6 separate regions of the Homo sapiens genome follow, and all the other regions are linked to region 2. The links are contacts of gene promoters, found by promoter capture Hi-C in blood cells and fetal thymus (Javierre and others, 2016). All regions are on one chromosome and are shown on one strand. The core of a region is centred on a gene start or on the middle of the fragment in contact, and the rest is flanking DNA. Distances in the headings are between cores, read along the strand shown. Region 1 overlaps SUSD1 (sushi domain containing 1). Region 2 holds the start of INIP (INTS3 and NABP interacting protein). Region 3 holds the start of UGCG (UDP-glucose ceramide glucosyltransferase). Region 4 overlaps UGCG (UDP-glucose ceramide glucosyltransferase). Region 5 overlaps SHOC1 (shortage in chiasmata 1). Region 6 holds the start of SUSD1 (sushi domain containing 1).

What was found. Contacts are between HindIII fragments. The CHiCAGO score rates a contact against its expected background, and 5 or more counts as called.
Region 1: a contact is called between a fragment that was not itself captured here and the fragment with the promoter of INIP in region 2, in 1 of 17 cell types (fetal thymus). The highest score is 5.9, in fetal thymus.
Region 3: the fragment with the promoter of UGCG here is called in contact with the fragment with the promoter of INIP in region 2 in 3 of 17 cell types (naive CD4 T cells, total CD8 T cells and fetal thymus); the score reaches 6.6 in naive CD4 T cells.
Region 4: a contact is called between a fragment that was not itself captured here and the fragment with the promoter of INIP in region 2, in 1 of 17 cell types (fetal thymus). The highest score is 7.0, in fetal thymus.
Region 5: a contact is called between a fragment that was not itself captured here and the fragment with the promoter of INIP in region 2, in 3 of 17 cell types (megakaryocytes, erythroblasts and fetal thymus). The highest score is 6.5, in megakaryocytes.
Region 6: the fragment with the promoter of SUSD1 here is called in contact with the fragment with the promoter of INIP in region 2 in 2 of 17 cell types (fetal thymus and total CD8 T cells); the score reaches 5.6 in fetal thymus.

Annotation. Positions count from the first base shown.
Region 1 is chr9:112,076,050-112,080,596 of GRCh38, forward strand. It overlaps SUSD1 (sushi domain containing 1), which reads right to left. Exons shown (of 17, transcript NM_022486.5): 11 at 4,025-4,116; 12 at 2,489-2,675. Among named protein-coding and RNA genes, the nearest start is that of LINC02977, 38 kb to the left of the region's middle. RefSeq lists an enhancer at 1,042-1,141. The HindIII fragment of the contact is 5,993 bases long and covers 1-4,547 here.
Region 2 is chr9:112,716,667-112,721,143 of GRCh38, forward strand. INIP (INTS3 and NABP interacting protein) reads right to left here and starts at 1,451. Exons shown (of 5, transcript NM_021218.3): 1 at 1,321-1,451. RefSeq lists an enhancer at 1,033-1,132 and a silencer at 1,503-1,662. The HindIII fragment of the contact is 2,113 bases long and covers 874-2,986 here.
Region 3 is chr9:111,894,755-111,898,889 of GRCh38, forward strand. UGCG (UDP-glucose ceramide glucosyltransferase) reads left to right here and starts at 2,060. Exons shown (of 9, transcript NM_003358.3): 1 at 2,060-2,559. The coding sequence starts at 2,462. RefSeq lists an enhancer at 1,511-2,094 and silencers at 1,715-2,304, 2,415-2,504. The HindIII fragment of the contact is 9,149 bases long and covers 1-4,135 here.
Region 4 is chr9:111,925,877-111,930,489 of GRCh38, forward strand. UGCG (UDP-glucose ceramide glucosyltransferase) reads left to right here. Exons shown (of 9, transcript NM_003358.3): 5 at 508-620; 6 at 3,624-3,802. Among named protein-coding and RNA genes, the nearest start is that of MIR4668, 3.9 kb to the right of the region's middle. RefSeq lists a silencer at 762-921. The HindIII fragment of the contact is 1,347 bases long and covers 676-2,022 here.
Region 5 is chr9:111,755,025-111,759,203 of GRCh38, forward strand. SHOC1 (shortage in chiasmata 1) reads right to left here. Exons shown (of 28, transcript NM_001378211.1): 6 at 3,671-3,824; 7 at 3,060-3,171; 8 at 1,301-1,454. Among named protein-coding and RNA genes, the nearest start is that of SHOC1, 38 kb to the right of the region's middle. The HindIII fragment of the contact is 1,826 bases long and covers 1,312-3,137 here.
Region 6 is chr9:112,173,754-112,177,719 of GRCh38, forward strand. SUSD1 (sushi domain containing 1) reads right to left here and starts at 1,544. Exons shown (of 17, transcript NM_022486.5): 1 at 1,380-1,544. The coding sequence starts at 1,482. It also overlaps the pseudogene RPL29P20. RefSeq lists a silencer at 1,003-1,662. The HindIII fragment of the contact is 4,774 bases long and covers 1-3,966 here.

The DNA.
Region 1 (4,547 bases), core at 451-2,950, 640 kb before region 2:
ACATGTCCTATGATGAGGAACTTGGATTCCATTCTAACTTTAATGGAAACTCACTGGAGAGTTTTGAGCTGGTGCTGACATGTTCCCAAATGCATTTTTAAAAGATCACTCTGAGTGCTGAGTGATCTTTTGAAAGTTATGGTGAAGACTAAGACTAAGGTCCAGGGTGGGAGGTATATAGGCAAGAGAAAACCAGTTTGAAAACTACAGCAGGAATCCAAGCAAGAGGTGGCTGTCTTGGATTAGGGTAGTTGTGGAAAAGGCACAGGTGGGGAGAAGTGGTGGAATTCAGAATATATTTCAGACAGCAAGCCAACAGGGCTTGTTGACAGATTAGAAATTTGGGGATGGGATAGAACCAATTAGGACTTGTTTTTGGTCTGAACAATTGGGTGAACAGAAATTCCAATAACAGACAGAAAGTAACAGATAGAAACAGAGAAGCCTGGGTGGAAACCGATTTGGGGGCGAGGGCAGAGGTGAGAAATCACAAGTTCCGTTTGATTTGCGTATTAGATGTTCAATAGGACATGTGTAGAAGTTGGGTGGATATAGGAGTCTGGTGCTCAAAGGAGAGGCTGGGACTAGAAATTGATCTTTGGAAATCCTCTGCATATAGGTAATAGTTATAGCCATAAGACTGGTTGAGATCACCTAAGCAGAAAGGGTAGATAATGAAGAAAAGGAGGCTGAAGAGGGGTCATAAAAGTAGATGGAGCTAGCAAAGAAGACTGAGAGGGGACAGCAAGGCAGAAGGAACCAAAACTAAGGGAGAGGGGGTTTCAAGAGGGAGGGAGTGTCAACGCTATCGAAGAAATCAGATAAGAACAAAACTGGCCATTGGATTTGGCAAGACGGAGATCAAACGAAGAGCCTTTCAGTAAAGCAATGAAGACGTATGTTTCCCACGTGGGATGAGTGAAAGTGAGAACAGGAGGTAGGGCTGTGGAGCCTACAGAACAGCCATTTCTTTCAAGGAGTTTTTATAGAAAGGGGCAGAGAGAAGGCAAAGTAGCTGAAGACAAATATGGGCTCAAAGAAGGTCTGCTCATTTTTTCTTTCTTTTCGTTCACAAGGAGGATGTTGCAACATGCTAGGCAATGCTGGGGATAATTCTGTATTGAGGGGAAGTGCTGATCAGGGAAGAAGGGATGGGATCTAAGGCACAAGTTGAGGGGATGGCAGCCTTACACACGAGCAGGGACAGGAAGGGAGGCAGAACAGGATGCAAGGAGGAACGGCAGGGCTGAGCGTGGGAAGTCCTCACCTGACTACTTCTAATTTCTCAGTGAAATAAGAATCAAGAAGCTAATATGCTTAGTATTTGCTCAGAGCATGTGTGAAGTGGGGGTCACAGATGTGAAGAGGGAGGAGAAAATGAGTGGAAAGTGAATTTACTGGGGCCCTATAGCCGGAGGACTACAATCATTGTCCCCTGATAGTAATCTACTTTTTTTTTTTTTTTTTTTTTTTTTTTTTTGAGATGGAGTTTTGCTCTTGTTGCCTAGGCTGGAGTGCGATCTCAGATCAACACAACCTCCACCTCCTGGGTTCAAGCAATTCTCCTGCCTCAGCCTCCCGAGTAGCTGGGATTACAGGCACCTGACACCACACCCAGCTAATTTTTGTATTCTTAGTAGAGGTGGGGTTTCACCACGTCAGCCAGGCTGATCTCGAAATGATCCTCACATGATCAACCCTCCTCAGCTTCCCAAAGTGCTGGGATTACAGGTTTGAGCCACTGTGCCTAGCTAGTAATCTACTCTTAAAGTACTTGCAACAGGATGCCAACTAAATATTCCTGAGAAAGAAAGAGCCACAAGCATTTTTTGTTTAAGTATAAAGTATTTTAAATGCTTTAAATATCCAGAAGCTATACAACCAACACCATGGATGGACACACTACCCACATTTCATCAATGCTGACATTTTGTTTCAGGTATCTTCCCCCTCCCCCTCCCCACAGACCTCCCCTGTGGTTATTAGGTATCTTTTTAAAAATAAAACATAACAGGCTGGGCGCAGTGGCTTACACCTGTAATCCCAGCACTTTGGGAGGCCGAGGCAGGTGGATTGCTTGAGCCCAGGAGTTCGAGACCAGCCTAGGCAACATAGTGAAACCCCGTCTCTACAAAAAATACAGAAATTAGCCAGGCATGGTGGCCTATACAACTATAATCCCAGCTACTCAAGAGGCTGAGGCAGGAGGATCATTTAAGCCCAGGTCAAGGCTGCAGTGAGCCATGATCGTGCCTCTGCACTCCAGCCTGGGCGACAGAGCAAGACCCTGCCTCAAAAAAAGAAAAAAGAATGAAACATAACAGTCACAGAGGCGCCTTAAGGCACCTCTCCAATTCCATGTCCTTCCTCCTCTCCCTGTTAAAGTTCATTATATAATGATAAAAAGCAACAGTGTTCCTCTTTATCAGGACCTATGAACAATTCTGTGGTAACTTTGTTAATCCAAATGCTGTTATTCAAGATTTACCTGTTATCTGGGTTGTCAGGGAGATGACCACAGGAAGTTCCGAAGACAGAGCCCGGAGACTGACATTGTAGTTGGTACCCGGACGTAGGTCCAAGCACACCTCGGGATCTCGGCTGCTGCTACTGATATTAAAGGTCATTTCCTGGGCAAATTCCTTCTGATACCATCTCTGGCCCCAAATGTGGAACTGAAACATAAAAAAGCTCACTGGGTGAATGGTTGGCCTAAAAGGCTTTAGATGCCTTGAAACCTCCCCTTTTCCTTTTTCTTTCTCTTTTTTTTTTTTTTTTTTTGAGATGGGGGCCTCACTCTGTCACCCATGCTGGAGTGCAGTGGCATGACCTCGGCTCACTGCAGCCTCAACCTCCCAGGCTCAAGTGATCCTCCCTCCTCAGCCTCCCAAGTAACTGGGACCACAGATGCATGCCACCACATCCAGCTAATTTTTGTATTTTTTGTAGAGACAGGGTTTCGCCATGTTGCCCAGGCTGGTCTCAAACTCCTGAGCTCTAGTGATCTGCCACCTCGAATCCCAAAGTGCTGAGATCACAGGCGTGAGCCACCGCGCCCAGCCCCTTCCCGTTTTCATGAGCTTTCTTCCTCTCTCTCTCTCTCTGGACTCTAATGTTTCTTCAAAAGGTGAAATGCAGCAGTAAGCAAATATTAGAGTTGCAATACTATAAATATTGTACTTAAAATATTATTTGTATAATAAATATATTTTTAAATAAAAACACACAAAAGGCTAAGGTCCCAATACTGGCAGCTTTCTCCTTATTCTCACACATACAGTGCACATACACAACAAGAAAGTCTATTGGCAAAACTGCAGGAGCAAGGACAAGAACATTTTCCTAGAAAGAATATTAGGAATCCAAACTAAGCAGGACCTGAATTAGAATACTCGTAGCTGGTCTGCTAGAACCTGAGAACAGTTTTTCTCCTCTTCCTGCCAGCTTCTGGTGACCCTACCCTTTCCTTAACCACCCTGACACTTCGGCCAAGAGACACCCTTTTGTTCTTACTTAATTTCTTCCAGTAGAAGTTCATCCCAGTCTTCCCCCTCCTTTTTTTTTTTTTTTCGAGACAAAGTTTTGCTCTGTCACCCAGGCTGGGGTTCAGTGGCGCGATCTTGGTTAACAGAAACCTCCACCTCTTGGGTTCAAGCTATTCTCCTGCCTCAGCCTCCTGAATAGCTGGGATTACAGCTATGCGCCACTACGCTCGGCTAATTTTTATATTTTTAGCAGAGACAGAGTTTCACCATGTTGACCAGGCTGGTCTTAACTCCTGGCCTCAAGTGATCCGCCCGCCTCAGCCTCTCAAAGTACTGGGATTACAAATGTGAGCCACTGTGCCCAGCCACTGTCTTTAAATACACAGAAGTGGCCATCTTCTTGCTTCTTGATGCAATTGTCACAGTAAATCGTCTACTGATAATGATAGTTATAGATGTAGATTTTTAGGTTTGTGGGTATTTTTAAGCCTCCCACATAAGACAACCATCTATAAATACAGTAACTTTCAGTCACTTACTAAATACATCTCCTCCATATCAGCTGTCTTGATGCTTCTCCATCTCAAGCAGGTTTCATTAAATCCTGAAATGTTACTGATGGTCTGTTTTACTGTAGTGGAAAAGAAATGAGAAATCAATTTACACTCTATAGAAAAAATGCTACCTTTTAATTGAGCCATTTTTCCAAGGATAAGTGTTAGCATGAGTTCAACAGTATTTTAATTTAGAAATTAGTGGTAGCAGTCTCAAAGTAATACCACTTTTATATCTAGGTAAACTCAGTCTTGATGAAAGATTTCAGATCCAAAGATACCTAATCGGAGGACCCCTCTTAAGAATTATTTGAGTGGGCCGGGCACAGTGGCTCACGCCTGTAACCCCAGCACTTTGGGAGGCCAAGGCAGGCAGATCACTTGAGGCCACGAGTTCGAGACCAGCCTGGCCAACATAGCGAAACCCCATCTCTACTAAAAATACAAAAACTAGCTGGGCGTGGTGGTGTGTGCCTGTAGTCCCAGCTACTTGGGAGGCTGAAGCAGG
Region 2 (4,477 bases), core at 201-2,700:
CCGGGCGCGGTGGCTCACGCCTGTAATCCCAGCACTTTGGGAGGCCGAGGCGGGCGGATCACGAGGTCAGCAGATCGAGACCATCCTGGCTAACATGGTGAAACCCAGTCTCTACTAAAAATAAAATTAAAAAAAAAAATCAGCCGGGTGTGGTGGCAAGCGCCTGCAGTCCCAGCTACTCGGGAGGGCGAGACGGGAGAATCACTTGAACCCGGGTGGCGGAGGTTGCAGTGAGCCGAGATCGCGCCACTGCACTCCAGTTTGGGCCACAGAGCGAGACAGCGAGACTCGGTCTCAAAAAAAAAAAAAAAGAAAAGAAAGAAAGATACATTTGAAATGTACACAGACTGAAACAAATGTAAACTCTGCTAGTGCCTCAAGCATTTAATTAAATACGGCATTGTTTATTCTTGCAGATGTTCATACCATTTAGCATTACTGTCTTTAATAAACGTCATTAGGTTGTATTTACCAAATATATCAACCAATTGATAGAGTCAATATAATCATGGTGCTAGGAAGAAAAATCATTCATCTATGGTGTCTCTGCATTCGTCTAAAACACATACCCAAAAACTACTGTGTACACTGAAAGCTAAAAAAGGTAAAGGAGTACTGTATCTGCTCTGCACCATACACTGTGTAACATGCTCGAAATTAGTTCCTTTATTTATTTATCACCATTTTATAGATGAGGAAACCGTACCCAGGGTCATAGAGCTAGTAGGAATTATTTGGGCTGCTGGTTTCCAAACTTCGTGCTTTCGTACTAAATCCTGGGGAGATCCAAGATGAGCAAGACCCTAATCCTGCTTTCAGAAGGGAAAATAAAGTCTTATTCAAGCAACCATACTATTAATTAAAAAAAAAAAAAGCTTAACAAACCCGCTCTTTAAAAGGTGGGCACAGTGCCGGAGGCAAAGAATTGATTTCATTGGCAGCAAAGAGTGATGCCTTAGTCTAGGGAGCCCGGGAAAGACACAAGGGATAGAAAACAGACACCGGTTTTTAGTAAATGAATCGTTAGGTGTCTCCAGCGGCTGAAACACAGAGCGAGCAATGCGGGGTTAGGACTGGAGGACAACAGGGCCATCTTGTGACAGGGTAGACTGGCGTGCCAGAAAGGTCCCTGCCTACGGATGTGCAGAGCCGGCTGGGCCCGGGCTGTGAACGAGACGAAGGAAGCAAGTAGGAGCCAGAAATGTTAGGTGGCAAGGTCGGAAGGGAGGTCGCTGCCTGTAGCAACAAAGACGGCGGCGACAGGTTAGCACCGGAGCCACACTTTTCTATTGCCCGGTGCCTCCAGACTGTCGTACTTACCTGGGACCCGAGGACACCGGGACCGCCTCTCCTTACAATCGCTGCTCTTAAAGGGGGCGCGACCACTTAGGCAAGAGGAGCTCAACTCGCGGCACTACAACCTTCCCGCCCCCGCTGCGCTTCCGCCTCCTGACTGACGTGCGCCCCAGGGAGCGGAAACCCCGCCTCCCGCCGGGACCCAACGGCCACCGCCCGTCGTGATTCGCACTTTAGCGGCCACCTCAGTGCAGACGTCACTTTTTTTTCCAAAGAGTGACAGTCGAAGAGGCTCACGGGAGATGCAAACGGTACTTTTGGGGGCTGGGCCAGGGTGGGGCGTGGCCCGGGGCGGGGGAGGGGCGGGGCTGCCAGGCAGGGGCGGGACGGAGAACACCTGGGTCCCTAGCACCAAGACTGGCTTTTTATTCATTGCCACCGCCTGGCCGGTCTTGCGACGGTGCGAGTCCACCTCGGCTGGGCCTCGGAGGAGGGGCGACTCTAGAAGCTAAACTCGCTTTCGAGCTTTAACAACCATCTCGGATTGCGCATCCGCACACACACACACACACACACACACACACACACAAATTCAGGAATATTTTTTGTCTACAGTTTACATAATTATACACAATGAAAGCACTGAATATGGAGGATTTTTATTACAGTGCAATAATCTGCATTTAAGAAGTGGATGTGCCACATCGCAGAACACCAAGTTGCCACTAGTGGGATCACCTGCTGCCCACCTGATTCCAGCACAGTAGATAGCTACACATTTGAATTAAAAGGTAATCGTATATTGACATGTGTTCAAATTGCACTCTTTTTAATTTAAAAAAATATTTTTTATGGTGACAGTGTCTCGCTTTGTTGCCCAGGCTGGTCTTGAACTCCTGGCCTCAAGGGATCTGCCCACCTCAGCCTCCCAAAGTGCTGGGATTACAGGCGTGAGCCACCTGCCCTGCTTAAAATTGCAGTGTCTTAATCTCTTCCGAAAGATACATTTGAAAAACGCACAGACTTAAATCACAAATGTAAGCTCCCCAAGCGCCTCAAGCATTTAATTAAATAGAATGGATAATGAATTTGAACATATGTTTTTAATAATTGATGTTTGCTCAAGAGTAAAATGTTTATGATGCACAATTTTCTTGTGCATGGATCAATGACTGAAATAATCGTTTCAATATCAAGTATTTATTTACTGAAAACCAAGCATGTATTTACTCTATACCAAGCAGCTATTGAGTGCCTTCTACAATGCGAGGTGCTTCCTGTGCATCAGCTCTGGTCCTGCTGTTCCCTGATTTATATTTGAGACTCATGTTTCTTGCTCTATGTCAAGTAGCGAGCTAAGATTCAAATTTAAAGATCTGCCAGATGCTAAGGCCTGAGTTCTTAAATCTCACACATTGCCTCTGCTCTGGAGGAATGAATTCCTCTGAGACCAGTTCTTGCTGACTTGACTTTAATCCAGATATAAAGCCTAACACATGAGCATTTTGATGGTAGGCCAGGAGTCCTTTCAGTTAAGAGGACTTGGTGAGTTCTAGTATGACTAAAAAGATGACTGAGATCTATATGGCTGATAGAACCTTAGAATTTTTTTTTGTTTTGTGGCCTAGCTAATATAGAAACTAGGGCACAGAAAGTTCCAGTCTAAGTTTCAAATGGACATTCTGAACAAAGCTTATTTAAGGAGGTGGGAGTAAAAACAGTTCTAACCCTAAACAACATTTTATAATTTCTTAGCAAATTCAGCCTCTGAGAGTTGAAAGAACATTATCAGGAGAAAGATAAATTTAACTTGCTGCCAATTCTTTTGCCTTTTACTTGGTAGGTCATAGCCCTTGAAACCCTTCTGTCTTCTCCTAGAGTTTTTGGAACTTCTGCCTCATTGTGTTAACCTCTAACACAGTGGTTAATAGTGAGTCAGTTTACTTGAATGCAAATTCGAGCTTTGCCACTTAATGATGGTGAGCCCTGGTTTAACCTTTTGGTGCCTCTGTTTTGTCATCTATAAAATGGGAATAAAAATAAGTGATTGGGTATACGTAAATCACTTAGAATAGCACCTGGCACATAATAAGAACTCAATAAATGTTGACTATTAGAATATAAACAATGAACAATCTGTTTTACTGGGTGTCTTGGCAAGTGGTCAGTAGATCAGCTGAGCCTGGGTGTGGTGGCTCATGCCTGTAATCACAGCACTTTGGGAGGCCAAGGCAGGAGGATTGCTTGAGACCAGCCTGGGCAATATAGTGAGACCTCATCTCTAGAAAAAAATCTAAAAAATTTGCCAGGTACGGTGGTGGGTGCCTGTGGTCCCAGCTACTTAGGAGGCTGAGGTAGGAGGATTGCTTGAGCCCGGGAGGTCAAGGCTACAGTGAGCTATGATTGCGCCACTGCAGTCCAGCCAGGGCAACAGAGCAATAGACCCTGTCTCCAAAAAAAAAAAAAAAAAAAAGAAAAAGAAAAAAAAAAAAGAAAAAAAACGTCAGCTGAGAAATATACTAGGGGAAAGTCCAAGACAGAAGGAGTGCATGTTATAGCCCCTTGGCTCTATTAACTGATAGCTGTCTGTGAATTACTTTATCCTGAAACCACTGTGGTTACAGACCTTCAGTATCAAGGTAGAGTTGACAGTAGTTCCTAATTTCCAACTGAAACCACTCTAACCTCCTTTTCTGGTATTTTGTGATAAAGTATTTGGGGATCTGCATGAGGCTAGACAACCTTTAAAATCAAGTGTGTAGCAGTTTGAGACAATTACTGTATTAGTTATCTATTGCTGTGTAACAAATTACCCTGAATCTTGGCAGTTTAGAACTTGGGTTTAGAACCTGGCCCTGCACTTACTGGGTGAACACTTAGACAAGTTATTTGTCTGTTCCTCAACCTCCTTATCTGTGGAAAGGGGTATTAAAAGCACCTACCTTATGCCATTGTTTTAAAGATTAAATAAAATCAAACCAGATGCCTCATACCTATAAGCTATTATTTTCTATTAAACATTAACTCATTAGAGTATTAAAACAATATGAAACATCATGAAGATTTTGTACAACCAAATGTGGTGGCCTCCAAGATGGCCCTCCTGTTGTCATCCCTTCCCACATTGAATAAACTTGACCCAAGTAACCAATGGGATATTGTGGAAGTGTCAGTATGTGAC
Region 3 (4,135 bases), core at 810-3,309, 820 kb before region 2:
TTTTTTGAAGTGTGCCTTAGAATTAACTACAATCGTAAATTTTTGTTTGGAACGTTATTTCGATGTTAGAATTCTATTCCACTTTTTTTTAAGACAGGGACTCACTGTCACCCAGGCTGGAGTTAAGTGGCGCGATCACAGCTCACTGCAGCCGCCACTTCCCAGGATCAGGTGATCCTACCACCTCAGCCTTCCCGGTAGCTGGGACTATAGGTGCCATAACCATGCCTGGCTAATTTTTTTTTTTTTTTTTTTTTGTAGAGACAGGGTTTCATCATGTTGCCCAGGCTGGTCTCAAACTCCTGGCCTCAAGCAATCCTCCTACCTGAGTCTCCCAAACTGCTGGGATTACAGGCATGAGCCACTGCGCCTGGCCCTCCATCCTGCTATTTTTATCAGCCAGTAACTCTCAACAGTGGGAATTTGATTTTGAAGCATTGTTCTTTCCCACTGATTCTGCACCAGTGGAGCCAAGGATGTTAATCGAGGAATGGTTCGGACATTAACTCTTCTAGTTGTAGTTTGTCATTTAATTGCAGATTGAGGTAGATCATTCAGTGACTATTAACTACCATAAACAGCAATAATAAACAACTTCTTTTCTTTTTTTTAAATTCATCTATTTTTTTTCGAGACAGAGTCTCGCTCTGTCGCCCAGGCTGGAGTGCAGTGGCGCGATCTCGGCTCACTGCAACCTCCGCCCCTCCAGGTTTAAGCAATTCTCTGCCTCAGCCTCCGGAGTAGCTGGGATTACAGGCGCCTGCCACCACGCCCGGCTAATTCTTTGTATTTTTAGTAGAGACGGGGTTTCACCATCTAGGCCAGGCCGGTCTTGAACTCCTGACCTCATGCTCCACCTGCCTCCGCCTCCCAAAGTGCTGGGACTACAGGTGTGAGCCACCGCGCCCAGCCACAACTTCTTTTCAAAATTGAATTCAATTCTGAAATATCTCAAGGGAGGTCATGGATTATTTAAAAGGAAATCACTTGCAACAATAAACATAAAACAATGCAGAAATAGTATAAACTCATCTAGATTGAAGAAACACAAACATTGAGTACTAGCATCTTCTTGGGATGACTTAAAATTAGGACAAATACTTAGTTACCTTACTACCCAAAGTGACATTTCTTCCCATTTTAGAGCTGTGCTGTCCACACGTACAATTAAAATTTTCTAGTAGCTAGCCAAAGTATTTAAAAAGAGAAATTAACTTAATAATTTACCTAATTTAATGTAGTATGTCCAAAATATTACCTTTTCAACATGCAATCAATATAAAATTTACTAACGAGATGGTCTTCCACATCTGGTGTACTGTTTACTCCACAGAGTGGCAAGCTGCCTTTCCAACCCTCACTTAGCCACATGCGGCTACCGTATTGGATGGCAGTCTTAGGGAATTTCAATATCAACTGATTCTTTAATTCTGAATTTGAGAATTTCTTTTTATAATACACACGGTCGCTAAGGCGCTTAGAGATCTGTGAGGCGCATGGAGATTATTTTACTCTCCGGTCCCTTTTGATCCAAGATCCCACAGCATTAAAAGCAGTAAGAGGGAAGGCAATGGGCATCCCTTGCGCCCAGGAACGTGGCCTGGAGGGCCTGGCTGCTCCGAGCAGTAGCAGTGCCCGGCGGGGAGGCTGCAGACGCGGCGTTGGAAGTTGGATTTCTAGACAAGCTCCGGCAGCTGCCCGGAACCCGTGTCTTTTTCTGGGGCACCCAGGAACAGCAGGGCCAGACGGAGAGAGAGCAGCCTCCAGCCAGGCACAGGGTCCCGAGCTGCCACCGACACCGAGGGAGCCCGGCCCAGGGCTGCAGCGCTTTCCGCCTAGGTGGGCGGCAGCGGGAGCGAGGAGCCGGAGGAAGCCCGGCCTGCGTCCTGCGGGCAGCAGGACACGATCTCCCCGGCGCGCTCTCGCCGGCGCCGCAGCGGGCGCGCGGGCGACAGGGTGGGCGTGGACCGATGGGGGCACCGCCCCTGGGAGAGGCGGGCGCCGCGGTTCCGGGGGCGGGACGCGCCGAGGAGTGGGGCGCGAGCCGCCGGTTTTGATTAGTGCGCGGAGCTGCGGCGGTGGAGCTGCTCGGCCGGGAGCCCGGCGGCGAGACGGAGAGGCGGCGGAGGTGCCCGCGCGCAGGGTCTGGTGGGCGGCCGCGAGGCTCGGGAGAGGCGAACCGGAGCGCGGGACCGCGGTCGCCCCGACCAGAGCCGGGAGACCGCAGCACCCGCAGCCGCCCGCGAGCGCGCCGAAGACAGCGCGCAGGCGAGAGCGCGCGGGCGGGGGCGCGCAGGCCCTGCCCGCCCCTTCCGTCCCCACCCCCCTCCGCCCTTTCCTCTCCCCACCTTCCTCTCGCCTCCCGCGCCCCCGCACCGGGCGCCCACCCTGTCCTCCTCCTGCGGGAGCGTTGTCCGTGTTGGCGGCCGCAGCGGGCCGGGCCGGTCCGGCGGGCCGGGGGATGGCGCTGCTGGACCTGGCCTTGGAGGGAATGGCCGTCTTCGGGTTCGTCCTCTTCTTGGTGCTGTGGCTGATGCATTTCATGGCTATCATCTACACGTGAGTGAGGGACCGCAGGAGGGGCTCGGGGCAGGGGTCCGGGCCTCGGAGACAGGCGAGAATGGGAAACGTTTGCGCTTTGAAGGGGACTGGGCTCGGGCGGGGGTGGAGAAAGCTGATCGTCAGGCTGTTCCCCCCGTTCCCTCGCCCCTCGGACCGGCGGTGGCGGTGGTCTTTGCGAGGGAAAAGTGTTGGGCGTGGGAAGGGTTTGCTGGGTTGCAGGCGACTGCCCAGCCAGGCTAAAGGAGACTGCTCTTACGTGTCAGGCTGAAGGTGGTGGCTTGGTTTGATTGTGCTGGGGATTCGTGTAATTTTTCATCTGGGCCGAGATGTATGGTGTATTGTTTTTTTCTCCCGACCTGGGCCACGTTTCTGTTAGGGTGGTGATTGTGTCCACTTTTCTGGGAGCTGCTCACAGCTATCTGGACACCTCTCTGTGGATTTTCTTCTTCCTGGAAGGGCTCTATGCGCTTAGATAGGTGTGAAGCACCTGTCCACCCTGAAAAATGTCCACCAAACCTCCGAGCTGGCATGATAGCTTTGAGTCCTGTCAGCTTGTACATCTCAGCGTGGTTTTCTTTCCTTTTTTCAGTTCCTCGTTTTATTGTTTTATGTAGATTTGTACTCTCCCCGTGCCGGCCACATCTTTTCATTTTTGTTTAACAAATACTTCTTGAGGCCTACTAGATACCATTCACTGTTATTGGCCAGGGGACATGGTGGTGAGCAGGACAGAATTCCTGTCCTCATGAGTCTTACATTCTAGAAGGAAGGAGCAGATAAAATCTAAATAAGGTTATGAGATTGTGACGAAGCGTGTAAGTAAAATAGAACTGGGTGATGGCGTGAATAGAGACATGGGTTATGTGGCTAGTTTGGTATATCCACTGTTTAAGGTGAAATCTGCCTCTGTAAAGAAATGAAAAAATTATATAGAGCACATTACTGATATCGATTCACTTGGATTTTTAGTCTGGGGGGAGAAAAGAGCAATTGTATATAGTAATCGTTACCATGAACTAGAATAGAGTGTATGTTAGTGGAAGAGACTTTAAGAAATTAGTTACTTTTAGTTTTTTGGTTTTTTTTTTTTCCTTTTTACTGCGGAAAAAGTGTGCCTTTGCTTTTGGAAACACTGTATTTTATTAGTATAGTGTGGCATTTCCTGGTACTGAGAAAGATGATGCTGGTACAGGTTATACTGATATTTCTTTGAAAGTGAAAGAAAACATGCCACTTGGATATTGTTGACTTTAGTTTTTGGAGTTGGTGAGCTTAGTCACAGCACATTCTGGAGTTCATTTAAAATATGTGAGTTCTTTTTCTTTAAAAAAATTGTTACTTTTTACCGTCATAAAAATAAAAAATGCTTACTGTGTAAGGAATTTATGCAATAGAGAGAGATGGAGAAAATTAAAATATGCACACACCAAAACTACATTACCTTGTTAACCTTTTGTGACTATCCTTCCAATCTGTGTGTGTGTGTGAGAGAGAGAGAAGGAGGGAGGGGAAGAGGGAAGAGAGAAAAGGACTATATTATGATTATTGTTCTGTAACCTGCTTTAAAGTTCAT
Region 4 (4,613 bases), core at 99-2,598, 790 kb before region 2:
CTATCTTAAATTATTTACTATCATATGTTTTTCAGTGTACAGATCTCTGTTCAATATAATCACGTTCCATTCCTGTGTGGAAATCTGATACTCACAGAGAAAATAGTCTCATTTCCTATGGTTGGAGAGTAGAGAAGCCAGCACGAGAACTGAGGTCCTTTAGCCTCTGCTCCTGAGCCTTTTCCACTAGGACAGATTGTCCTTATTCCAAATTAGAAGTTCCAACAGGGGGTAACTTTTTCAAAGTATATTCTGCCTCTGGTACATAGTAGGTATATACTGGGCTAAAAAATGTATAAATTAGCTTTCGAGAATTAGGCCCTTTTGAAATTTTGTATTCTCCTCAGAAAGGTGGTTGAGATTCATTTTATTAGATCCATATGTTTAAAATAATGTATTTTATTAAGAATGTAATAACAATTCACAAAATATATTTTATATTAATGGGCATTCTACTAAAAACAAATTTTCTTTTCTCCCCCTCTCTGCCTTTTTTTTAAATTGTAGTAATTCCAGATACGCTTACTGACATGGTGAATCAAATGACAGAAAAAGTAGGCTTGGTTCACGGGCTGCCTTACGTAGCAGACAGACAGGGCTTTGCTGCCACCTTAGAGCAGGTGAGTATGGTGGTTATAAATCATGTTCATAGTATCAGACCCCTCATTTCCCAGAAGCTTGAGACTATGGGAGCTGGAATTAGGTATCTCAAGTTAACTGTATTAAGTCCATTTGGGAACCTGCTGTGTTCTAGAAGCCCTGAGTTGAGAGCAGCTGTTTTCATTAGTGAGGAAATTCTTGGGACCCTGACTGTACCCTGGCAGTGAACAGCTGTGCGCAGGAAATGCCTGCGGTCTTATTGCCAGCTGAACACAGTCTAACCTCTTGCCTTGTAGTATTCACTTCCTGTTCTAGAGTTCAGTTCTTTATATTGTTCTTTCAAACATTCGATCTGAAAAGAACCGCTGGCCCCCTCCCCCCAGCCTTTTTTTTTTTTTTTTTTTTTTTTTTTTTGCGACAGAGCCTTGCTCTGTTGCCCAGGCTGGAGTGCAGTGGCACGATCTCGGCTCACTGCAACCTCCACTTCCCAGGTTCAAACGATTCTTCTGCCTCAGCCTCCCAAGTAGCTGGGATTTCAGGTGTGCTACCACACCTGGCTAACTTTTGTATTTTTAGTAGAAATGGGGTTTCACCGTGTTGGCCAGGCCGGCCTCAAACTCCTGACCTCAAGTGATCTGCCTGCCTCAGCCTCCCAAAGTGCTGGGATTACGGGCATGAGCCACTGCGCCCAGCCCTCAAAAGAACCTTTTTAAAATACCACAAAGTATTTCAAATATACACAAAAGAAAATGTATTCATACAAGTCCTTATAAAACCTATTTGATGTCCTTTTAAAACATATTTCTAATAATTACCTGAGAAACTTATGTTTTCATTTTATTTTTTCTCCAACTTAGAAATAGTAACATCCATAGGAAACTATAAATAATGGAAAAGTATAAGATGCAAAAAAACAAAAACCAACAACCTAGAACCCTAACAATTACAGGAAGTTTATGGGGTTTTTTTGTTTTTTTTGTTTTGTTTTTTTTTTAGATGGAGTCTCGCTCTGTCGCCCAGGCTGGAGTGCAGTGGCGCGATCTCGGCTCACTGCAAGCTCCGCCTCCCGGGTTCACGCCATTCTCCTGCCTCAGCCTCCTGAGTAGCTGGGACTACAGGTGCCCGCCACCATGCCTGGCTAATTTTTTGTATTTTTGATAGAGACAGGTTTTCACCGTGTTAGCCAGGATGGTCTCGATCTCCTGACCTCGTGATCCACCCTCCTCTGCCTCCCAAAGTGCTGGGATTACAGGCGTGAGCCACCACGCCCGGCAGGAAGTTTCTGGTTTTAAAAATAAACATTGTATCATTTGGACACTTTGGAGTCTTTATTTCCCCCACCACCCCCTTCTGGGCCCTTTAGAAAACATTGTTGAGATAGTATTCTAAAAATAATCTGTATCTTATTTTTGTGACTTTGTAAGCTTTTCCCATATCATTAATAGCTTTTCATAAAAGTAATTTTTATTGGCTGTATCATAGGCCATCGTATGTGTGTCCTATGCTTGAGTTAATCATTCCTGTACTGTTAAACATTTGGGAGGAAAAATTTGTTGTAATGTTATAAGGACAGATATGTGATTTCAGTCTTTAAATATGTCAACTTGCTCTTAAGCATATCTGCATTTATATTCTTTTGAATTGCAGTCTTATGATTGCCACATATCTGAAGGGGTAAAGGTACATTGTGGGAACTTGCATCTGGCCTTTGGCAGTTTGAACCATGAGCTCTTTCTTAATATTGGCTGTAAATATATTTGTCCTACTGCAAGAAATTGTTAGTCTTAAATACCAGAATTTTTGTTTAGAAAAAGAAACTGAGTAGCCACTTTAAAATAAAATACAATGTGTTCTAGTATACCAAATTGTATTTTTGTCTTAGAAATATCCAAATTGATACAGATGTCAATAACATCTCTGTGATGTGTATGTCAATAAACATCTCCCAGAATACACCCATTGCCTTAGTGTAGGTTTAATCTCTGGAAGTCACTCTGCCATACTTAGAATTAATCATTCTCAACTGTAAAGAGCACATTCAGCTCAGTGACTAACATCTCATTCCTAAGACCTCAATAACTACTAAGGAATTAAGATATGTGCCTCTGTTCTTAGAAGTCAGGTTCAGTTCAGTCCCACAAACACTAGGGCTTCACTGGAGTCTGGGTTCAGGGTAGGTAGCAAGAATCATAATCATAATTGCCCCTTAGAATTCTCTTGCTCTGCACTGTGTGTGTAACTCCTAAGAAAGATGACTACTCTTTATTTCAGGCTAATTAGAAAAGGCAACATATCTGAGGTGTAAATAATAAATAGGATTTTATGTCTACTAAGTAGGGTAATAACAGTCCTTTTCTACCATTGATTTATCAGCGTATATATCTTATGACTTCAGAGTATATGCAGAGAAATGGCAGTAGCGGATGAGAGAATTTTAGTATCCCCGTTATGAAAAATACATTGAAAAAAATGGAGAAATTGGGAAGAATCTTAGTGACTAAGGGAGAGGGAGCAGCTAGCTACAAAAGGATGCAAGAAAAGGAATTAAGAAATAGGATTGTGTCCCCTCCCCACCCCCCACCCCCCAAAAAAATAGGATTGTCCCGAAGGTTGATATACCTATGGGTGGTGTGTGTATGCATGCATGTATATATACACACATATACGTAACATACAAATATGTATATTGATCCCAGTAAAGTAGATGTGTGTGTATATTTACATGAACACCCTAAAAACAAGATACATTGAATATTTGTTAATATTTTATATATCAATGAGTGATATTTTTACCTTATTTTGTATCTAAATTAAGTTTTATTTGGATGCATTTTTAGCTTACTAACTGTGCTTGCTCTATGAAAGCAATATTGTCTACCACTTTTTATTCAGGTAGTCTACGTAAGAATAATAAGATATTCACTCAATCATACTTATAAAAAAACCATTGGGAAAAACAGTTCGTGAACACCATGCTTTTAACATGAAATTCTAATCATACACGTTTGTGGTTTTTTGGGCAGGTATATTTTGGAACTTCACATCCAAGATACTATATCTCTGCCAATGTAACTGGTTTCAAATGTGTGACAGGAATGTCTTGTTTAATGAGAAAAGATGTGTTGGATCAAGCAGGAGGACTTATAGCTTTTGCTCAGTACATTGCCGAAGATTACTTTATGGCCAAAGCGATAGCTGACCGGTAAGACAACTAAATGAAGCCATAGTATTTTTATTACCTAACTTCTGTTGGTTTATTCTTTTTGTTCAACCTATAGATTAGGGCTTTTTAATTTAATTTTATTTTTTTTGCTAGTAAGTACAGAATAGGTCAATAATTTTATTATTTTGTTTGTTTTTGAGACAGAGTCTTGCTCTGTCACCTAGGCTGGAGTGCAGTGGCGCGATCTTGGCTCACTGTAGCCTCTGCCTCCCGGGTTCAGGTGATTCTCATGCCTCAGCCACCAGAGCACCTGGGACTACAGGCATGTACCACCATGCACACTAATTTTTGTATTTTTAGTAGAGATGGGGTTTCTTCATGTTGGCCAGGCTGGTCTTGAACTCCTGAACTCAAGTGATCTGCCCACCTCGGCCTCCTAAAGTGCTGGGATTACAGGTATGAGCCACCACACCCAGCAGATCAATAATTTTATAGAGTAATTCATATTCTAATTATAGAATTGTAGATATGTACTAATGAAGAAGGTAAATGTTCTGATTCCTCTACATTTTTCAAATTAATGTGTTTTAAAGCGATTAAAAGTAAGTTTCTCTGTGTTTAGAATTTTTACTATATAGATACAAATTTCTGTGTTTTAGAAGAATTAAAACTATCAGTGCAGTCATAAACTAGTAGGTGAAAATTTAAAGACTATCATTTCAAAATTTGAAATTTGTCAGTGAATTATATGATACTTTGCTAAGAAGCCACTGAAAGATTCATATGACTGACTTAGCATTTCTCTATCACAAAATACTTGTTTTGTTTTGGTTTTTTTTTTTTTTTTTGA
Region 5 (4,179 bases), core at 975-3,474, 960 kb before region 2:
AGGTACCTGGGACACTGCCTACCCCCTGACCTTTCAATAATGTGTATAAGTTTCCTTGTTAGAAGTCCTCTGTGGCAGTGACTCTGTTTTACTTAGTACAGCAGCCGAGTCAAGTGAAGGCTGGGAGTTTAACAGTATAATCACTCAGTAAAGTCATTTGTTGTCCTTTACATTTGATTTACGGAGCTGAGATTTGTGTCCTGCCAATAAGCCTATGGCCCACCCTGCATTTTGAGATCTACTATATTTGCAAGTTCTGGTATGGATTTGATCTACTTTCCCAGGTTGGCTTTTCATTCCCTTGCTTTGATTTGCAGGCAGAACAGTAATTCCCTGATTTAGTTTTAATCGTAAGAATTCCTTCAAGTCTGTGGTCTGTTCATGGCAAGCATCCCTGTTCTCAATGGATATCGCAGATCCCCCTTCCTTTCCTCCATGATATTATATATCTTTGATCATTTTAAATGAAATTTATGAGAGGGCAGTTAAATATTTGGGCTTATACTGTCATTAAAAATAACTCAATAATATTTACTAAATTTACTAAGACTAAATGGGATGAAACCATCTAAGTTCTAAGTTATGACTCTCCTAGTCATTGACTCCACGAATCCATACTCTGAGCTCTTTATGGTGAGCCTCTCCATAGTTAACTAATGTCAGTATAGAAGTTGATAATGTTTTTATTGTTTATAAGAAAACAACTCTTCAAAAATTTGTATAGTCATAGGTGTTTTAGTTTTATTTGTATAATTATCTTGAAATGGTTAAATTTCAGAGACGTTTTAAACCTGAAAGTCATACAAAGAGAATGACGGCTGGGTGCAGTGGCTCATGCCTACAATCTTAGCACTTTGGGAGGCCGAGGCGGGCAGATCACCTGAGGTCAGGAGTTCAAGACCAGCCTGATCAACATGGAGAAACCCCATCTCTACTAAAAATACAAAATTAGCCAGGTGTGGTGGTGCATGCCTGTAATCCCAGCTACTCGGGAGGCTGAGGTGGGAGAATCGCTTGAACCTGGGAGGCGGAGGTTGTGGTGAGCTGAGATCTTGCCATTGCACTCCAGCCTGGGCAACAAGAGCGAAATTTTGTCTCGACAACAACAACAACAACAACAACAAGAAAATGACAATGAGAAAATAATCTCATCAAAAATAATCCTGAGATTTCAACATGTAACTTGCAGAACATTTTTGCAAAATCTGGAGGTTCAGAAAAATTTTAATAAACAAGAACCTATGTAACAAACATTCTTAAGTGGTTTTTACAAGTAATACATTTTACAATTAATTCTCACCTCTTTCAAAAAGCTTTTCCTTTTCATCTACATAGTTTATTATTTCTGGCACTGGGTTTAATAACTCCTTCAGTTCTGAGAGTGATGGAATATCAATTTCTGGTTTGAGGCTTGGAGGTATTAAGAATTCATACTCAATAAGAAAACTTGACGGCTGAAAAAACATAGTTTAAAAAAGTTTTTAGAGAGGCTTTCCAAATAAATATTTTCGAAATCATAAGTGGACAAAATTTGCTTAAATGATGTGCCAAATTTTAAACTAAATCCACATTCAAAATTGTTAAAGCTATATATACTTTAAAAAAACAGAAATGTAGCAGCTAAAAATACGTTCTATTATAAGCAATGTTCTCTCTGAGTATTGTATTTTATGGTCACTCATTACATTAGTGGTGTACAATATCCCTAGATGCAGAAATAGCTTCTTTTTGGCTAATAGCAAATTGTAAACATTTTAAATTAAAAACAGTCACTGCAGTAGATGAGAGATAATAAATGGTGAGAAGTGAAATGAGATCATGGAATGGAATAGATCTTTACTGTGATCCATGGAGTATGTTTCTCTTTCATTCCAACAGAACTTGACTCCTCAACAAGAGAGACTAAGTCCACAACTCTCAGGGTTAACCTGGGAAGCAAGAGGTACTGGAGGAATGGGGCCTATTGGTGAATTAACCTTTTTACCATCATGTTAAAATTTTTATTGTAAGGAAACCCCTTAAGTGCTTTAAGTCCATTAAAATCTCCAAATATAAAACATTTTAAGTTGTCCTAAAAAAATGTTTTTTGTGTTTTGTTTTTGAGATGGAGTCTCGCTCTGTCACCCAGGCTGGAGTGCAGTGGTGCGATCTCACTGCAAGCTCCGCCTCCTGGGTTCACGCCATTCTCCTGCCTCAGCCTCCCGAGTAGCTGGGACTACAGGCGCCCACCACTATGCCTGGCTAATTTTTTGTATTTTTAGTAGAGACAGAGTTTCACCATGTTAGCCAGGATGGTCTCGATCTCCTGACCTCGTGATCTGCCCACCTCGGCCTCCCAAAGTGCTGGGATCACAGGCGTGAGCCACCGCGCCCGGCCAAAAAATGTTTTTTTAAAGTAGCTTTGTGAACGCATCTAATCAATATGGGCCTAGATTTCTGAGCTTGTCCAGCTGCAAAAAGTTATTGCAATCGCAATAGCTAGAATTCTTTACATACTGATATTATGACCATTTTGTGTGCTATTGAAACTAAATGCATCTTTGAGAAGTTTGGCCTTTAATATGCAAAAGATGCTATCATCCTTGTTAAACACTGGCAGAAAACTAAAATTCAGTCTTGGACCCTCTATATTCTTACTCTTGCAATATTCTCATTAGCTCAAGTACTATTTTTTGTGTATAACTCACAAATCAATATTTCTAGTTCAGGTGTCAATTTTTAAACTAGACATGACTACTTAATTTCCTATACCAGGTATATTGATTACAATTATTGGAAGAGATTTTAAAGTTCCCTATGACTGGCCTGCACACCAGACCAATTTATCAGAATATATCTCAGGCTTCAACATTTTTTTTTAACTATTCAGGTAATTCCAACATACAGCCAAGGCTGAGAACCACTATTTAGAAGTAAATTTGACTTCTTAATTGATACATGTTCATTCCATTATAAAATCTTTTTAATTTGACAATTGTAGACAATGTATATTACACAAATTTTACAAAAATGTGCCTCACTACTTTTACTAAAATATTATTGAAAGCCAGTATTACAACCTCATTTAAACATATTGTATCTTCTAGTTTCTCTTGACAAAAGTTCACTTTATCCATACAAAAATCTTCTTTCACAAAAGCTTCCAAAGTTTCTTGAAGAGAGAAACATTCCCTTAAAAAAAAATACATTAATTAGTGTTTACTAAAAGCAAGTTACATACTAAATGTAGCCAACCAAAACACATAATCATTAAAATTAAAGTTGAGGTAAAACGATGATAAAAGTTATTGGCCGGGTGCAGTGGCTCACGCCTGTAATCCCAGCACTTTGGGAGGCCGAGGCGGGTGGATCACCTGAGGTCAGGAGTTCAAGACCAGCCTGGCCAACATGGTGAAACCATGTCTCTACTAAAAATACAAAAATTAGCTGGGCACAGTGGCGCACGCCTGTAGTCTCAGCAAGGCTGAGGCAGGAGAATCGCATGTGCCCAGGAGGCGGAGGTTGCAGTGAGCCGAGATTGCGCCATTGTACTCCAGCCTGGGCGACAGAGCAAGACTCATCTCAAAACAAAACAAAAAAAAACATTGTTGATAACATCTAAGCTTGTGATCATACTAAAACATTTTCACCTCTTAAAAATATTTACAGCATTGGTCAATTAAGTAAGTACCTGGAAAAATTAGCTTCTGTGAAGATCTGTCCTTTGAAATCTAAAAGAGGATCCTTTACCAAAAACAGTTTTAGTCTACTCAAGAGAGTAGGCAAAGTTGGTAGGTGTTTTCTACTACTTACAAAAAGTATTCCTTTATCATCAATAAATAAATCTGAAAAGAAATAAGAAATATAAAGGAATAAGAAAAAAACAAAAAGTTATCCAAAGAGATCTAGATAGTTAATGTAATCAGTCATTAGATACAGCTGGGTTTTTCAATCACATTTTAAACTCTGTAGCTCTTCATTGTACTGTGCATATAGAGCATGTAGCATAGTTCTGGAACAAAGGCAAAAGTACAATAAATTTTAGTATTATCTAGGACACCGAGGAATAGCCAAATATCCCAAAAGAGCTGTAACGGCTAATACTTTATCAATAAAGATTAATCAATGGAGGAAAATATCTTATGGACTTACACTTCAAAATAGCCAGGCGTAGCCTAAGCAAAATTTTAAAGAAATAGA
Region 6 (3,966 bases), core at 294-2,793, 540 kb before region 2:
GGCAAGGCCTCAGCACGTGCACTCATGGCCTTGGCACTGTCGCCCTGCATCTTCTTTAGGCCCCTCTTATTGTGCTTCTTGGCAAACCGCATGTTTGTCAGGAACTTGGGGTCCACCCCTTTAAAAGATTCGTATCTTTGTGATCCGGGTTTCATGATGCCGTTTCTGTGCCATTTTCGGGACTGGTTGTGTGTGGTGTGGTGCTTGGATTTGGCCATGTCTGCACTGTAACCTGTGGCTCCCGAAGCGCCTAGAACTGGCTAGACCCACTTTTCTTGTCACTCCCTGAGACGGCTTCCAGTGGCTTCCAGGCACAGCTAAGTCCAAAGGCCTAGGTCTGCCAATCAAGGCACTCTGCCCTCTGCCTCTGGTGCCTCCGTGTGCTTCCTTCCCTTCTCCCCCGGGCCTGAATTCTGAAGGAATTCATTCATTCTACACTCATTTGTGGAGAGGTGACAGTGCCTTCTGCTATGAGCTGGGATACCTTTTTCACATTTTCCCATATCCAAATATGACCAATCATTGATGGCCCAGCTCAAGGGTCACCACCGATTCCCCTTTCCCTGCCCTCACCACCCACACCTTCTCATGGCACCCATGCCATTCTGCCTTGTATTACAGTTATGTGGATGAATGTCACCTCCCCTGCGTGTCTGAATCCTCTGTGTAATTCCTACTCAGCTCAACACTGCATTTTGCAGAGGAGGAAAAACAACTCCCTCGATTGCTTGGAAATAGAACATTTGCTGGTCTAAATCCTCCAGACAATGAGCTCCACGAGGGCCCGCACTGCCCGCCCTCATCGCGCACAGGGAAGCTGTTCAAGGGCCATCTGTTGAATGAATGAGTGAATTAATGGCTTCACTCCTGTACTCTTCCTTACGCGTCTTTCTCACCATATTTAGCATCCGGCTCTCTAACAACGTGAAAAAATTAAAAGTGGTAAGAAAATTGCTTCGGGTCAAAAATGTGTCATGCAAAAGCCACCGCAGAGCCGGAAGCGTGACAGCGCCGCAGAACGCCCTGGCCTCCCCGCCCTTCCCCGGGCGCCGCCCTGCCCGGGTCCGCGCTCGCGCCCAGCCCCCACCCCGCCTCCTGGGCAGTGGAGGTCCCTGGGGGCCCGGCCAGGCCGCCTTAAAACCGGCGTCCCCCGGCGTCGCGGGGTCGGGCGGGGGCAGGGAAGCCCGGCGGGGAGCCCCCCGCTTCTCTGAGCTCCTCCTTGCCGATCTCCAACGGCCGGCGCGGGCCCCACCTGCGCCCCACGCCTCGGCACCGCGCCGGCCCGGCCCAGGGGCGGGGAAGCGTCCGTGCGCCCAGAGTCCTCGAGGCCCAGCCGGGGGCCCCGCCGGCCGCCCGTGCCCGTCCCAGCCCGCACTCACCGTCGGGGCCCGGCGCTCCCGCGGCGCCGCGGGCCAGGCCGAGCAGCAGCAACAGCGGCAGCAGGCGGCGAGACGGGCCCGCATCCCAGGGCCCCCGGCCCATGCCGCCGCCGGTCCCTCCCGGCGCGCCCGCGCCTCCTCCCGGGGCCCTCAGGGTGCAGAGATAAGGCTACAGGCGCCGCGGGGAGGGGACCAGCCGGCGGCTTCCGGCGCCGCCGAGGGAAGCGGGGGGCGCTGCGGGGTCCCCGGGAGGCCGCAGAGCGCGGGTCCTTCCTCTTGTCGGGGCCTGGGCTTAGGACACGCCCGTTCCGCGTCCGTCTCTGGCTCCGCACTTGCTGCCCTCTCGCCGCTCACATTCGCAAAGGGGGACAGACACTCATCGGATAATGACACAGCTGGACGCAGAGCCCCGGAGAGTGCTGGGGAGGAAATGTTGCGGAGGATTCAAGCCACTCGAGGGCTCAGGGAGGCACCCCCGGGGAGAGGGGTGAGGGGAGCAAGGGGCGGAAATCTTCCAGGACGTGAAAGGGAGCTGGATGAGGTGACCACAGCGCAAGGCCCAGATGAGAGGTCGGAAGACGCAGACCCAGGCCACCCAGGGGCGACACACTTGACCAGGTGACACCTGGTCACCGGGAGTGAGAGAGAGTAGGGCTGTGATGGAGGGAGGGGCTGGCATCAGTCCCCGCTGCTCTGAGGACACCCGGCTTGGGACGCGCTGATGCCAGCCCCTACCTCCATCACAGCCGTACTCATCCCAAGGGAAGGAGTAAACCAAGACCCAAGGATGAGAAGGACGTTGGGGAGGAATCTAAGCGGGAGTTTGTTGTAGAAATGGGGAATGGGGACCTAGAGTGAGAGCAGAGGGTTGGAGAGGGGCGTTGAGCTGCAGAGGGAAGTTAGCCCTCCTAACCCAAGTGATGGAGGTCGCCGGGAAGCTGTCACAGTTTCAAGCAGTGAATGACTTCATCACTGACACATCTCTGTCTGTTCTGTGGAATTGGGATTGGGGTTGGGTTGGGATGTGGAAGGCAAAGAGTCCAGCCCGGAGTTGCTGCAGGAATCAGGCAATAGAAGACATGTCCTGGCCCGGTGCGGTGGCTCACGCCTGTAATCCCAACACTTTGGGAGGTCGAGGCGGGTGGATCACTTGAGGTCAGGAGCTCGATACCAGCCTGGCCAACTTGGTGAAACCCCGTCTCTACTGAAAAAAAAAAAATTAGGTGGGCACGGTGGCAGGCACCTGTAATCCCAGCTACTCGGAAAGCTGAGGCGAGAGAATTGCTTGAACCCAGGAGGCGGAGGTTGAAGTGAGCCGAGCTCGCACCACTGCACTCCGGACTGGGCGACAGAGTGAGACTCCATAGACAGATAGATAGATAGATAGATAGATAGATAGATAGATAGATAGATAGATAGATAGACAGACAGACAGACAGACAGACAGATAGAGATAGAGATAGATGTGTCCTGCAGCTGGGCATTGACAAATGAGTGTGAAGAGGGCAGTGTGTAAGAGTGGAATCCACTAGGTTTTATGACTAGTCGGGGAGAAGGAAATAAATAAGATCCGGTTTGAAGGCTTTGAGCTTGTGATGTCTGTGGGAGCGCAGCCGAGAGCAGGCACCCCACTACTTCACCCCATATCCTCACTTGTTTACTCTCTGCCATGAGCCTGCCGTAAATCTCACCACTTTCAAACACACCCATATAAGGGCTAAAGTTGTGGAGTCTTAACAAGTAGTTAAAAATCAACTTCAAGCTGGGTGAAGTGTGGCATGCCTGTAGTCCCAGCTACTAAAGAGGCTGAAGGGCAGGAGAATTGCTTGAGTCCAGGAATTCAAGGCCCATGTGGGCAATACAGTGAGACCCCCTCTCTTAAAAAAACAAACAAACAAAAACAAACAAAGAAAAAGCTCATCTTCCTAGGCTCTTTTTTCCTCTTGGGGAGACAAGGTCTTGTTCTGTTGCCCAAGCTGGAGTGCACAGCTCACCACAGCCTCAACCTCTTGGGCTCAGGTAGTCCACTAGCCTCAACCTCCCAGTAGCTGGGACTACAGGGGCGCAGCATCATGCCTGGCTCATTTAAAAAATTTTTTTTGTAGAGACAAGATCTGGCTATGTTGCCCAGGCTGGTCTCCAACTCCTTGGCTCAAGCAATCCTCCCACCTTGGTCTCCCAAAGTGCTGGGATTACAGGAGTGAGCCACTGCATCTGGCCTCACAAGCTCTTTTCTTAGCAGGCTTTCTTGAAAATTATTTTTGATCAACAAAGACAGGCACCTGTTTGGGGAGCAATAGATGGACGGTGTGTCTCTATTATTTAGACAAATTTTTTAAGTTCAGCTCTCCATAAACTTCAAACTTGGAAATCATGTCATTGTTTCAACAAATATACCATTCACTTAAGATTTTTAACCAGCCTATACCACTTCATCCCCACTGTGGCCCCTTGCAAAATAAATAAACTTAAGTATATATGTATATACATTTTTTATTGATAATGTCAGGAAAATTTGTCCAAAACTTGGAAATGGGCAAAAGAGATTACTGGGTATCCTTTCAGTGGGGTGCTGGGTGCACCGTCG